Linked DNA regions of Homo sapiens: region 2 is linked to region 1. Evidence: promoter capture Hi-C in 16 types of primary human blood cells and fetal thymus (Javierre and others, 2016). All regions are on one chromosome and are shown on one strand. The core of a region is centred on a gene start or on the middle of the fragment in contact, and the rest is flanking DNA. Distances in the headings are between cores, read along the strand shown. Region 1 holds the start of BDP1 (BDP1 general transcription factor IIIB subunit). Region 2 holds the start of BTF3 (basic transcription factor 3).

Evidence for each region. The method cuts DNA at HindIII sites, captures the fragments that hold promoters and counts their contacts. A CHiCAGO score of 5 or more calls a contact.
Region 2: a contact is called between the fragment with the promoter of BTF3 here and the fragment with the promoter of BDP1 in region 1, in 4 of 17 cell types (total CD8 T cells, naive CD4 T cells, fetal thymus and 1 more). The highest score is 6.4, in total CD8 T cells.

Annotation. Positions count from the first base shown.
Region 1 is chr5:71,451,209-71,457,401 of GRCh38, reverse strand. It overlaps BDP1 (BDP1 general transcription factor IIIB subunit), which reads right to left and starts at 1,751. Exons shown (of 39, transcript NM_018429.3): 1 at 1,313-1,751. The coding sequence starts at 1,524. RefSeq lists enhancers at 964-1,889, 1,890-2,816. The HindIII fragment of the contact is 8,261 bases long and covers 1-6,193 here.
Region 2 is chr5:73,493,934-73,500,055 of GRCh38, reverse strand. It overlaps BTF3 (basic transcription factor 3), which reads right to left and starts at 1,614. Exons shown (of 6, transcript NM_001037637.2): 1 at 1,257-1,614; 2 at 854-922. The coding sequence starts at 1,388. It overlaps BTF3-DT (BTF3 divergent transcript), which reads left to right and starts at 1,736. Exons shown (of 1, transcript NR_186388.1): 1 at 1,736-2,503. RefSeq lists a silencer at 1,130-1,179 and enhancers at 816-1,626, 1,390-1,689, 1,720-1,779. The HindIII fragment of the contact is 2,385 bases long and covers 59-2,443 here.

The DNA of each region.
Region 1 (6,193 bases), core at 502-3,001:
GGAGGTTGCAGTGAGCCGTACCACTGCACTTCAGCCTGGGCGACAGAGCAAGACTCCATCTAAAAAAAAAACTAATTAAAAAAAAAAAAAAAAACCACTTTCCCAGAGTCAGTAATGGCAAAAAAAGTGACTAAAAAACAAATTATATTCCCCAAACGTAAATGTCAACTCAAAAAAAAAAATTAAATATCCTTGACCATAAATATCTCAAAACTACAATCTTTGGGCAATTTATTAAATTATCAACCATCACGCACTCACACATAATTAACGAAATCTCTGAGAACTTTATTAATGTAACAGCGACTAGTATCGGTATCTCCTTTCTGTGTAGAAATTTTGAAACAGATTCATGTAATAAACTTGGAAATTACTAACCATCACTGAACTATCAACGTAACACCATACACTCAGCACCAGTTCAGGCCAATAGAGGAAGATGTTCCAAAAATAAATAAATGTTTCACCTTCCTATCACAGCATAAACAGAATTTGTACTATCTCACTTCACTTAACAAGGCTGTTTACTGATTTCCTCATATATATAGAAACAGAGACCATCTTAGCCTAACATGTCTTAAATTTACTCCATCACCTTTCTAAAAAACTAGTAACTTTTTGCGGGCAACTATTCTGCTATATCCCCTGCAAGGTAGTTAATATGAATTATCTCCAATCTGCACCAAAACGCTCCAAGTAGGCAATATTATTCCCATTTTGCAGATGAGCAAATTCTGCCTGAGAAAAGTTTACCTGTAGACTAAAAGAGTCCTGAATCCAAATATGATACATGACGCTAAAGCCATGCTTCTCTATTCAGGAAACACGGTCACCATAGTTAAAGAGGCACACTTCAATTAAGTGACCAGAACTCTTACTCACTGACATAAATCGGTAAAGCCAAAGCAATACTTATCTTCTCCTTTAAAAAATAAATATTTTATAAATTGAAAGACAAAAACACTTCCCTGCAAAGCACTCCAGAAGGATGAAAACTATAGTGACCTAAATTCTCAAATGAATAGTGTGGATATTCTTCACTTCAGGACTGCCATACCCCGATTCTCCCTACCACCACTTGAAGACATGGTCTCCTCTCGGAGAATCTATAGACCGTGACAAAATCCACACAAGCCACACCCTGCAGGTCAGACAACTAAACTGCAGTTTGGAGTGGTTTCATCAAGCCTCAACTGAAAGGCTTACTGCAAACGAGAGCGGACTCCTGTGATAAAATTCATTTGCTCAGCTTCCAGGTGACATGCCCGGAGAGGCGGGACAAATGAAAATTCTTCCCTCTGCAACCTCTTACCTGCTCCTAGGAGCCTTTTCTTGGGGCTCCGCTCCACCGAAATCGACTGTGGGCACATCTGTGGGCTCCGCGGGCTTGGAAGCAGAGTCCGTGGCAGGATCCGGCGGCCTGGGAGACTCCCGTCCACGCTGGGGATTGGAAGCTGTGGAGCCCCTGGCGCCTACACCAGGCCTGACATTCGGCTTCACGCTAAGGCGTGCCCTGCGGAACATGGCGGAGGCAGGGGGCCCGGGGAGGCAGCCTCACGGCCGCTCACAGCCCCGAGCCCCGGCGGCTGCCCGGAAAGGGGATTAGGAACTACGCCCTCCCCACAAAGCCACACCACCAGCTCAGGGGGCAGCTACCGTAGTTTCACTGCCCCGCCGCCGCCTCCTCCTCTCTCCCGCCGCCGCCGCTTTTTCATGACCCTGCCACACACCGATGGCTAAATTTCACCCTCCTCCCAGCATCCCCGCGCTCACAGGACGCCGCAACTGATTGCGCCATCAGCCAGCGCCGCAGAATGACGTCAGACGCACAGCACTGGGAGCCATGGTAACTACCAAGCTACTGAGACTGGGTTACCTGCGGACCAGAAATTGAGATGCAGAGATATTTGCTCTTTCTTCTCCAGGAGTCCTTAGGAGTAGTTGAAAAGAGGAACAGAAGAAAGTCCACTTCTCTGCTCAAACCTTTACTGGAACTATTAAAATCGCTGGCCGATTTTGTCTTTTGAAGATCCTGAAGGGTTTAGAAATTCTAAATTGAGTAGACATAGATTAAAAATGCTGGTGTGAAGAAACTGATAATAGTTACCTCCCAGGAGAGGAATGTGTTTCTGGAAAACACGTCGTGGTAGGAAGACCATTTACCGTACGCCTTTGTGTACTTTTTTGTTTTTGTCCTTTGAGACAGGGTCTTGCTCTGTCGCCTAGGCTGGAGTGTGCAGTTGCGCGATCTTGGCTCACTGCAGCCTCCACCTCTCGGGCTCAGGCGATCCTCCCGTCACAGCCTCCCAAGTTGCTGGGACCACAGGCACGCGCCACGACACCCGGCTAATTTTTTTTTTCTCGTATATTTAGTAGAGACGGGGTTCATCATGTTGCTTAGGCTGATCTTGAACTCCTAGGCTCAAGCGAGCCACCCATTTGGCCTCCCAAAGTGCTGGGATTACAGACGTGAGCCACCACGCCCAACCTCCTTGTGTACTTTTTAATATGAATGTATCACCCGAGATCGTACCACTACACTCCAGCCTGTTTAAAAATTATTATAGTTGAAACCTTGTAAATTATTGTGAGTGTTCTTAATCTGCTTCAGGAGGTAGCAGTAAACAAGACGTTCTGGATTTGGGAGGAGAAAATACAAAAAAGAAATGAACAAGATATTTTTAAAATGTATCAGGCCCGGCGTGGGTGCCTCATGCCTGTAATCCCAGCATTTTAGGAGGCTAAGGCAAGGCAGATTGCTTGAGGTCAGGAGTTCGAGACCAGCCTGGCCAACATGGTTAAACTCCATCTCTACTAAAAATACAAAAATGAGCCAGGCCTGGTGGTGCAAGCCTGTAATCCCAGCTATGGGAGGCTGAGACAGGAGAATGGCTTGAACCCTGGAGGTGGAGGCTGCCGGGAGCCAAGATGGCACCACTGCACTCTAGCCTAGGCAACAGAATGAGTGAGACTCTGTCTTAAAATAAATGAATTAATTAATTAATTGCAATAAAATAAAGTATATCAAATGTCATGAAATAAATTTAAGGGTTGAATGCCGGGTATGGCGAGGCACGCCTATAATCCCAGCTACTGTGGAGACTGAAGTGGGAGGATCTCTTGAGCCCAAGACTTCCAGACCAACCTGCTCAAAATATTGAGACCCCTAAAACAAATTACCTACATGCGGTGGCTGTGATGGCTCCCACCTCTAGCTCCAGCTACCTGGAAGGCTGAGGCAGGAGGTCCAGGCTGCAGTGAGCTATGATAGTGCCACTGCCCTCCAGCATGGGTGACAAAGTGAAACCTTGTCCTTAAAACAAAAATTTAATAATAAGAAGAAAAAAAAGAGAGAAATGTACAGGATGATGTGATAGAAAGTAATGGGAGGGAGGCTGGCAGTAGAGTGGCTAGGGAAGTCCTCTATGATGAGAGGAAAAATAGCCAGAGCTGAGGTTGGCCTTGGAGGTATTGGGCCAATGTTTGAACCAGTGATACAAATCCCCTGACTCATGGGAACACAAAGGCCTGACTTTCTTCTTAGAAGGAAAAGAAAATCCTACAAGAATATGGTGATACATTAATAACAAAAGGTCAAAGGAATAAAATTCTGAACTGACTGAAGAAATTGATCACCTAAAGGGAGAACAAAAAAGAGGCAAGTGCTTTTGAGAGTAGGAAGGCAAGACTGAAAGCAGAGAAGAGAAAACATATATCTCTAAGACTATGAAGAAAATGAAGGTCTGGAGGCCAGGCACAGCTCGTGCCTGTAATCCCAGCACTTTGGGAGGTTGAGGCAGGCGAATCACTTGAGCCTAGGAGTTTAAGACCAGCCTAGCCAACATGGTGAAACCTCATCTCTACCAAAATTACAAAAATTAGCTGAGCATGGTGGCTTCTGCCTGTAATCCCAGCTACTCAGGAGGCTGAGGTTGGAGGATTGCTTGAGCCCAGGAGGCGGAAGTTGCAGTGAGCCAAGATCACACCACAGCACTACAGCCTGGGTGACAAAGTGAGACCCTGTCTCAAAAAAAAAAAAAAAAAGAGAGAGAGAAAGAAAGGAAGGAAGGAAGGAAGAGAAAAGAGGAGGTCTGTGGATTCCGTGGGCTCCCTGCAATACTCTGGAAAAGGAACAGTATCTCAGTTTTATCTTCTTTATTTAAAGAAGCTCAAGAATTCGAGAGAATACCCTGCTAAAGATGTCTCAGGAATCTTGGAGCCACTGCCAGGTCTACACAGCTTTGAACAGCATATTCTGATACCAACTGAAGACACAGGGCCTTTCCCCAGATGGTCTTCTGTTCCACTTAAGAGACTAGGGCATTGTCCCAAGTTTTTACAGGTCAGAAAGTAAATAGTGACTAAGATTTAATTTCCCACCAGTAAAGGGATGGGAACAGAATCAGATTAAATTTTATTATTAAATATAAAGTCATAAGACATTTGTTACACAAGTTTGTGGAGTAAATTCTTAGTGGCATCATACGAATTTTTTAAATCTCTACTTTTCTCTGAGAGACACACACAACACATTTTGTGTACATGGGGTATATCATGTGTAGCCCTACAACTTAAGAACTGCAAAATTTCAGCTGCAAAGAAAAATGTTCAATTAGATTAAATTGAGAGCACGTACAAAAACAACTCTGCTACTCACCGGCCGGGCGCGGTGGCTTGCGCCAGTAATCCCAGCACTTTGGGAGGCCGAGACAGGCGGATCATGAAGTCAGGAGATCGAGACCATCCTGGCTAACACGGTGAAACCTCATCTCTACGAAAAAAAATACAAAAAACTAGCTGGGCGTGGTGGCGGGTACCTGTAGTCCCAGCTACTTGGGAGGCTGAGGCAGGAGAATGGCGTGAACCCAGGAGGCAGAGCTTGCAGTGAGCTGAGATCGCACCACTGCACTCCAGCCTGGACGACATAGGGAGACTCCGTCTAAAAAACAAAACAAAACAAACAAAAAAACTCTACCACTTACCTTCCAATCCCACCCCATTCCCTCTTTAGATGACCTTATCTCTATAAAGAACTGTGCCAGAGGTTGGAATGGTTGAAATCTCATGCTTGAAATCCCAGCACTTTGGGAGGCCGAGGCAGACAGATCACACGAGGCCAGGAGTTCAAGATCAGCCAGGCCAACAAGGCAAAAAACCGTCTCTACGAAAAATACAAAAATTAGCCGGGGCAGGGTGGCAGCCGCCTGTAATCCCAGCTACTGGGAGACTGAGGCACAAGAATCGCTTGAACCTGGGAGGCTGAGGCTGCAGTGTGCGGAGATTGCGCCAGTGTACTCCAGTCTGGGCAACAGAGTTAGATACTGTCTCCAAAACAAAACACGGTGCCAGAAAGTCAATCTTTTCCCTTCAAGTTACTTCACTAAGTGGAAGCAGAGGCTAGCAGTATTAAGGAAGAGAGGTGGGGTGTGGGGATAGGATAGTGATGTGTGCGAGGCTCTCTGAATTTGAAAGAATAATGACAGTAAGAGCTAACATATTGAGTTCTACCATATGCTGGGGACCTAGTACTTCACATACGTTAATTCAGTTAATGAAGAAGGTACATACCTCCCCATTTTACAGGTAAGAACGCTTTAACATAATGAAATACTGTCCAAGTTGACACAGCTACTAATTAGTAGAGATGGACTTTCAACCCAGACAGTTCATCTCCAGAGCTCCTCAGTCTTCACTTTCTCCACCTTCTCTAAAATAGACGATTTTATGAGGTAATAATTGAAGTTTGGTCGCATCTCCTTGAGGATTCGTTATCCTTGTTACTAATGCTTTTGTACTGTATAAATTTCAGATCTTCCAAAATAAAAGTTTTTAAAATATAGGGCAATGTGGGGTATCCAAATCATCTCAGTTTGTAACAATGTTATCGTTTTGTTTTTATTTTTATTTATTTATTTTTTTTGAGATAGAGTCTCACTCTGTCGCCCAGGCTGGAGTGCAGTGGCGCGATCTCGGTTCACTGCAAGCTCCGCCTCCCGGGTTCACACCATTCTCCTGCCTCACTCATCCTCCCCAGCAGCTGGGACTACAGGCGCCGGCCACCACGCCCAGCTAATTTTTTGTATTTTTGTATTTTTTTTTTTTTTTTAGCAGAGGCAGGGTTTCACCGTGTTAGCAAGGATGGTCTCGATCTCCTGACCTCGTGATCCACCCGCCTCGGTCTCCCAAAGTGCTG
Region 2 (6,122 bases), core at 365-2,864, 2.0 Mb before region 1:
AGTTAAACGCTTAAAGTTGGGAAAAACTAAAAGGTAATAAACATGTACCATGGAAGCTTTACAAGTTTTACCAAGTAAAGACATGCTCTGTTTCAACAAGCTACCACACCTTGTTAAATACTAAGAATGTGCTAACAATACAAACTAGGTAGACCTCTGTCTACAGTGGACTTCTTATTAATTACAGGACAATCTAAAAATCAGCTTCAAAAAAGAATCCCCTTGATGTGAATCAGTATCCACCAGGAAAAAAACAATTAATCAAAAACTGATCATTTAAAAATCAGTCACTTTAATTCCCTCATTTTTACAGTAATACAAAGTCAGAACAGGAAAGATACCTACTTGGGTTATATTTTCAAATCTAATAGTCACTGCTCTTAAACTCCAAAATGTACCCGTATCTTCAAATACCCTTGAAATATGCAACTACCCTAAAGAATATTTAGTTCAGAAAGCAGTACAGAAAGGTCTCAATTTACAAGAGAGACAAACAAGCACTGACTTTAGAAAACTCAGGCCAAAACAAGTCAAGGGTATGATGTGCACAACGATCTAACTGAAATGACACATTTTCCTTACTAATTAAATTAGGAAACACTTTTGTGTTCTACTTACACTCTGTAACACTGAAAACACAAACATGTTTACACAAAGGCGATGTTTTTAGCTCGTCTCACTGATGTGTCTCCAACCCTCGTCTCCCCCGCTCCTCGAGATTTGCTAGCTCCGTGAATTTCCCTCGATAGGCAAAGTTTGTCACCGATAATATAAGAAGCGCAAAAGGAATATGTTTTTTAAAATACCTAAACCTTAAAAAAAAAACCCACAAACCCGAACTATTAAAACTTACTTTCCCACCAATGCGCACTTGTGCCTGCAGTTTGGCGAGTTTTTCCTGGTTCATGATTGTTTCTTTCATCTAGAAAAAGAGGAAATCCTCAGCAAGGATAGGTTTAGCTCACTCTAGCATTCCATGCTCGTTATTTCCCAAGATACCAGCAGGAAAATAAACGTCCTACACAGGCCGAAACCTGGATCCCAAATCCACCCCGCAAAGCTCCAAATTTGGGTTTCCAGGGAGCCCAAAGAGCACCCGCCTCCCCACCACTCCCCCACAGCTCCCCGCTCTTGGCAGGCCCGGATGAAAGGCTCTACCCCACGCCTGGCCAGCACCCCCCACCCCTGGCCCTGGCCTGGCCTCGGCCTAGCCAGGGCCTGCCCGGCCCGGCCACTCTCCGCAAGCCTCGCGGTACCTGAGGCTCCTGTCCTCGGGTTCCGCCGCGAGGTGGAGGTTGAGACAGCGTCGCCTCGCCCCCAGGGCAGCCGCCCCTGGCTCGACCTCGCCCCCGAGAGTCAGCCTGAGCGGGTGCGCCTGTCCGTCGCATCGCCTTCCTCTCCTCCTCTGCCCTGTCCCTCCCTGTCTCGCTCCTTCAGGGAACTTCCCGCCCCCGCTCCCGTCCTCCTACCACGCCGCCGTCCAGAGCCTTTTTGTACCTTGTCGGAGCGAATAAGGGGCCGCGCGGGGGACTAGGGTTGGTGCTCAAGGGGTCTCGGGTGGACCACCTGAGATTAGGCGCACACACGCGGGGACGCAAGATGGCAGCTAAAGGGAGGCCGGAAGTGACACAAGGCCACTTCCTTCAAGAGTCAGGAAACTGACTTCGCCGCGAACTCGGTTCCTCCCTGCGCACGCGCGACAGCGTTTGTGATGGTCCAGCGAGTCCCTATTCTCCTCCTCCTGCTCCAGCGGCTGCCGGCTGTAGGCCCTACGAGAGACTGCTGGCTTGGGGCGCAGCCCGTACCTCTGGGAGAGGCCACAAAGGGGTCGGAGAGCGCGGTCCTGTGCACAGTTAGGGTTAAGTCCGCTCAGTCTCCATTGGGCCCTGATCCTGAAGTTCTGTGCCCTCCGAAGAAAGGGCCTATTCACGTTTCCTGGAGACGCCGGAGGTGCCCAGCTTGTGCTCACCACTCAAGCAGCTCTCCCCTTGCTGGAGGTGTGGGTTGGAGAATTGCAGAATTTCCCTCTCGGCCCGAATGAGCCATTACCAAAGCATTTTGTCAAAAATAGTGAAGTTAGTTTGGCCTTCCAAGGTTAGGTGGTGTGGTAGATTGCGGGACCGAGGTTCAGAATTTCTGGGGGCTGTATCCCCGAGCCCCACTCCTCAGAATGCAACTCTGTACGACGAAGGAACTGGGTAATCCGCATTTCAGCCAATTTAGCAGATGACTAACCACCTTAAAACGGTCCACACAATTATCTTGTTTATCAGGCAAAAAAATTGACTCCTAGGTACCGAATTGGCATGGATTTGACAATTAGCGATTCACGGTTAAGCAGACTTTATCTATCTTAATCCAATCAAAGGAGAATTTCTGCCTGCTGTGTTTGGAGAGACAACGCGTGGATGTGAGTTAAACTTTGTTAAACCCAGGACAAGCTTTAAGATAAAACGACTGATATTTAAAATGGCAATTTAAATAAAAATGTTCTCTGATCAGCCTTTTTGTGGTCTTAACCATGAAATGTCTTTGCATATTCAAAAGTGAGTCCGAAATCTTAGAATGCAATGTGTGTAGCAAGAAAACTTGTTCAAGTGCAGACCCCTCTCCAGTTAAGATCAATGTTTAAACTTTTTGAATACTTTTTACATATAAGTTTGTTGCAACTGATGTCTCAAGAACATAACTGGTGAGGACAGCTGTATTGCCTTTTAGAATAATTGTTACAGTTATATTTACAAAAAACAATGTTGCTTCAGTTAAATATGAGTGAAGTTTTAGTACAGGTAAGGGTGTTTGTAGTTAGGCTTATGTGGGTTACCTTCCTAATGACAAAGGCCAAAATGGCAGTACCAACATTATGCTGTGCTCTGGAGATATTACAAAATATATAGAAAGACTCCCCCTTTTGGAAGAAATGTGTATCTTTGTCCAGGAACAGTTTTTTTCCTCTCCTCCATGTTATATTGGAGGCATTTGAAACTTCCTAGTCACGTGATGTTTTCTGAGCTTTTATAGAGACAAGATTGTATGTATGTAACCTGCCACCTTTTTTTTCTTTTTCTTTGCCTTCCCTCTCCTCTGCCCTTTTAATACACCTGTTTTCAGGAAATATTGTGAGCTACTTTTATTTATTTATTTATTTCTACTTTTTGAAACCAGGGATGCTGCTAATTTTATTTTTATAATTTTTTTAAAAAATATAAAACTTTAAAAAAATTAAAAGAGATGGGGTCTCACTTTGTTGCTTAGGCTGGGCTCAAACTCCTGCGCTCAAAGGATCCTTCAGTCTCAGCCACTTGAGAAGCTGAAACTACAGGTGTGCACCACTTTCCCTGGCTTATGACTTTTTAATTTTCCCCTCGTTCCTACTTTTTTCTCCTGTTCTTTCATGAATTTAAAAGTTTGCTGCGTGTTGAAAATATAAAAGATTACTTAATAGTAAAAAAGAAAATTTTGATTTTCTTTTTACGTTCTGTTTTGGTTTGGTTTTTGTGCTTTTCTATTTAGAGATGGAGGTCTTGCTATGTTGCCCAGGCTGGTCTCAAACTCCTGGGATCAAGCCATCCTCCCATCTGGGCCTCCCAAAGTGCTGGTAGTACAGGCATGAGCCACGATACCTGGCCAAAATTTTGATTTTTGACTCCAGCTGCTTCTGCTGGTTTTATGAGTAGTCAGGAAATTCTGATTCTTCTAATAAAATAATTATATACTAGACTTTTCAAAAATATGGGATTTTTTTGTTTCAAAAAAAGTTATTACATTGCAATCTTAGCTCAAGGATGCCAAAAGAGTAACTTGTGCTAATGTGGGAGCCATTTCCAGTATGCTCCCAATGTCTATGGCAAATGTGGGTAATTGGCTCCCACGCTTTCCTGCTGGGCTTCAAGGAGCCTAAGAATCATTTACTCAGCACTCAAGATTGTATCTGTCAATAGAGAAGGCAAGAAAGGTGAACCCTGTTTGCCCTCCTTGGTTTCTAGTTTATAGCCTAATCAAAGTCCATGAATTGTTTTCATCTCTCAGCTGGATTTGAGTCAGCTTCAGCAAAAGCCAAAATATCCACTTTATATAATGCTTATTTCTTTCTTTCTTTTTTCTTCTTTTTTTTTTTTTTTAGTCTCATCCTGTTGCCCAGGCTGGAGTGCAGAGCACTCGGCTCACTGCAACCTCCACCTCCCGGGTTCAAGCGATTCTCATGCCTCAGTGTCCTGAGTAGCTGGGATTACAGGTGCCCACCACCACACCCAGCTAATTTTTGTATTTTTTATTACATGTTTCACCATGTTGGCCAGGCTGGTCTCAAACTCCTGACCTCAAGCGATCTGCCTGGGATTGCAGGCATGAGCCACCATACCTGGCCAACTCAATATTCTTAATAGGTGGTAGGGCTATTTCCCTTTTTCACTTTTGAGACTGACAGATTTGCAGATATTCTATGTACATTTTAGGTTTTGTTTCATTTTGAAATTTTGATTAGGATTGGTTGTATAGATCGATTTGGGAAACTTATATATTTTCTAATTGTATGCCTCTGCATTCACTTGTAGGAAATCTGGCTATTTTTAATACACAGGGATTTAATATAGGGAATTGGTGCTTTACAAAGTTTGAAGGACTGGAGGAGTGGGCTTTAGCCTGGGCTGTCAGAAGTGAGTCCTAAGATAATACAGATTTAGTATCCCTAATCCAAAAATTTTAAATCCCAAATGCTCCAAAATCCCAAGCTTTTTGAACACAAGCATCATGCTCAAAGGAAATGCTCATTGAGCATTTCAGATGACAGATTTTCAGATTAGGGCTGCTCAACCAGTATGTACATAATGCAAATATTCCAAAAAAAAATCCCAAGTCTGAAAAATTTCTGGTTCCCAGCATTTCACATAACAGATACTCAACCTGCACTCCAGAACTGGGCTGTCATAGGACCTGCTGCAACTGTTTTCACCCATTAGGAGGATAGAGAATCAGGACCCTACAACTGGAATTATTGATGTTAAGAATGCACCACTGTAGCTACAATTCAGGAATCAAGAAGATAACTGTAGTAAGTACTACTCAATACCCACAAAGCTAATGACTGAGCTCTGGAAAGCTGCTGCAAAAAATATATCTCATGAGCATGCTTGCCAGCAAAAACAAAGCAGCAGGAAAAAGGCTTTAGCCTCACTTCCACTTTCTAAACCTTACTTAAATGTACTTAGTTGGCAAAAATAATTCACTTCTAGGATGGTAACTGCAAGGAAATCTGGGAAATATAGTTTTTAACTTTCCAAATTTATAGTACAAGGAGGCAAACTTGAAAGAAATTGGAATTGATCTGAGTACCAATCTACCTTACCTACCCAAAATTTCACCTCCATAAACATAGTGCATCTATTTTTTCAAATCTTTTATGTATTTTAGCAGTGTTTTAAAAACCTTCTGAAGGTCATGTGCATTCTTTAATAGATGGATTCCCGGATGTTATAGTTTTTATTCTTAATCTCTTTCCTATTTTAGTCATTGCAAATGTCTTCTCCTGGTGTGTTAAATCCATCATACTCTTGTTAAATAGAAACATAAATTTTTGACCCTGAGTTGATCTAGTTGTCGATTTACAGAATATACAAAAGACAAAATTCAGATTATAGGAAATGAGAGGACAAATAAACTCCAAGGGAACGAAAAAAAAAAAAAAAAAGAGTAAGGGGATCTTTGTATTAAGAGAAATCTAAGAGACATATCAAACAAACAAAAAACCCAAAAGAAAGCAGGCAAAACAATAGTGTCTAGGGGTGCATGCTTAGGTAATGAAACTGAAGAGGAAGGGAATTAATTATAAAAGAATAGTGGTTATTCCATGCTGGGTGTAGCTCACACCTGTAATCCCAGCACTTTGGGAGCCGAGGTGGGTGGATCACTTGAGGTCAGGAGTTTGAGACCAGCCTGGCAACATGGTGAAACCCTGTCTCTACTAAAAATACAAAATAAATAAATATAATAAAAAATAAAAAAAGAATAGTGGTCATTCTTGCAGAAAATGGATTATAGTTGGGAGGAGGCATATAGTAGATTTCTAGGGTGGGGAGGAAAGGTCTGTCTCCTTACATGTAGAGTGTATATGGTTCTCTGTATTT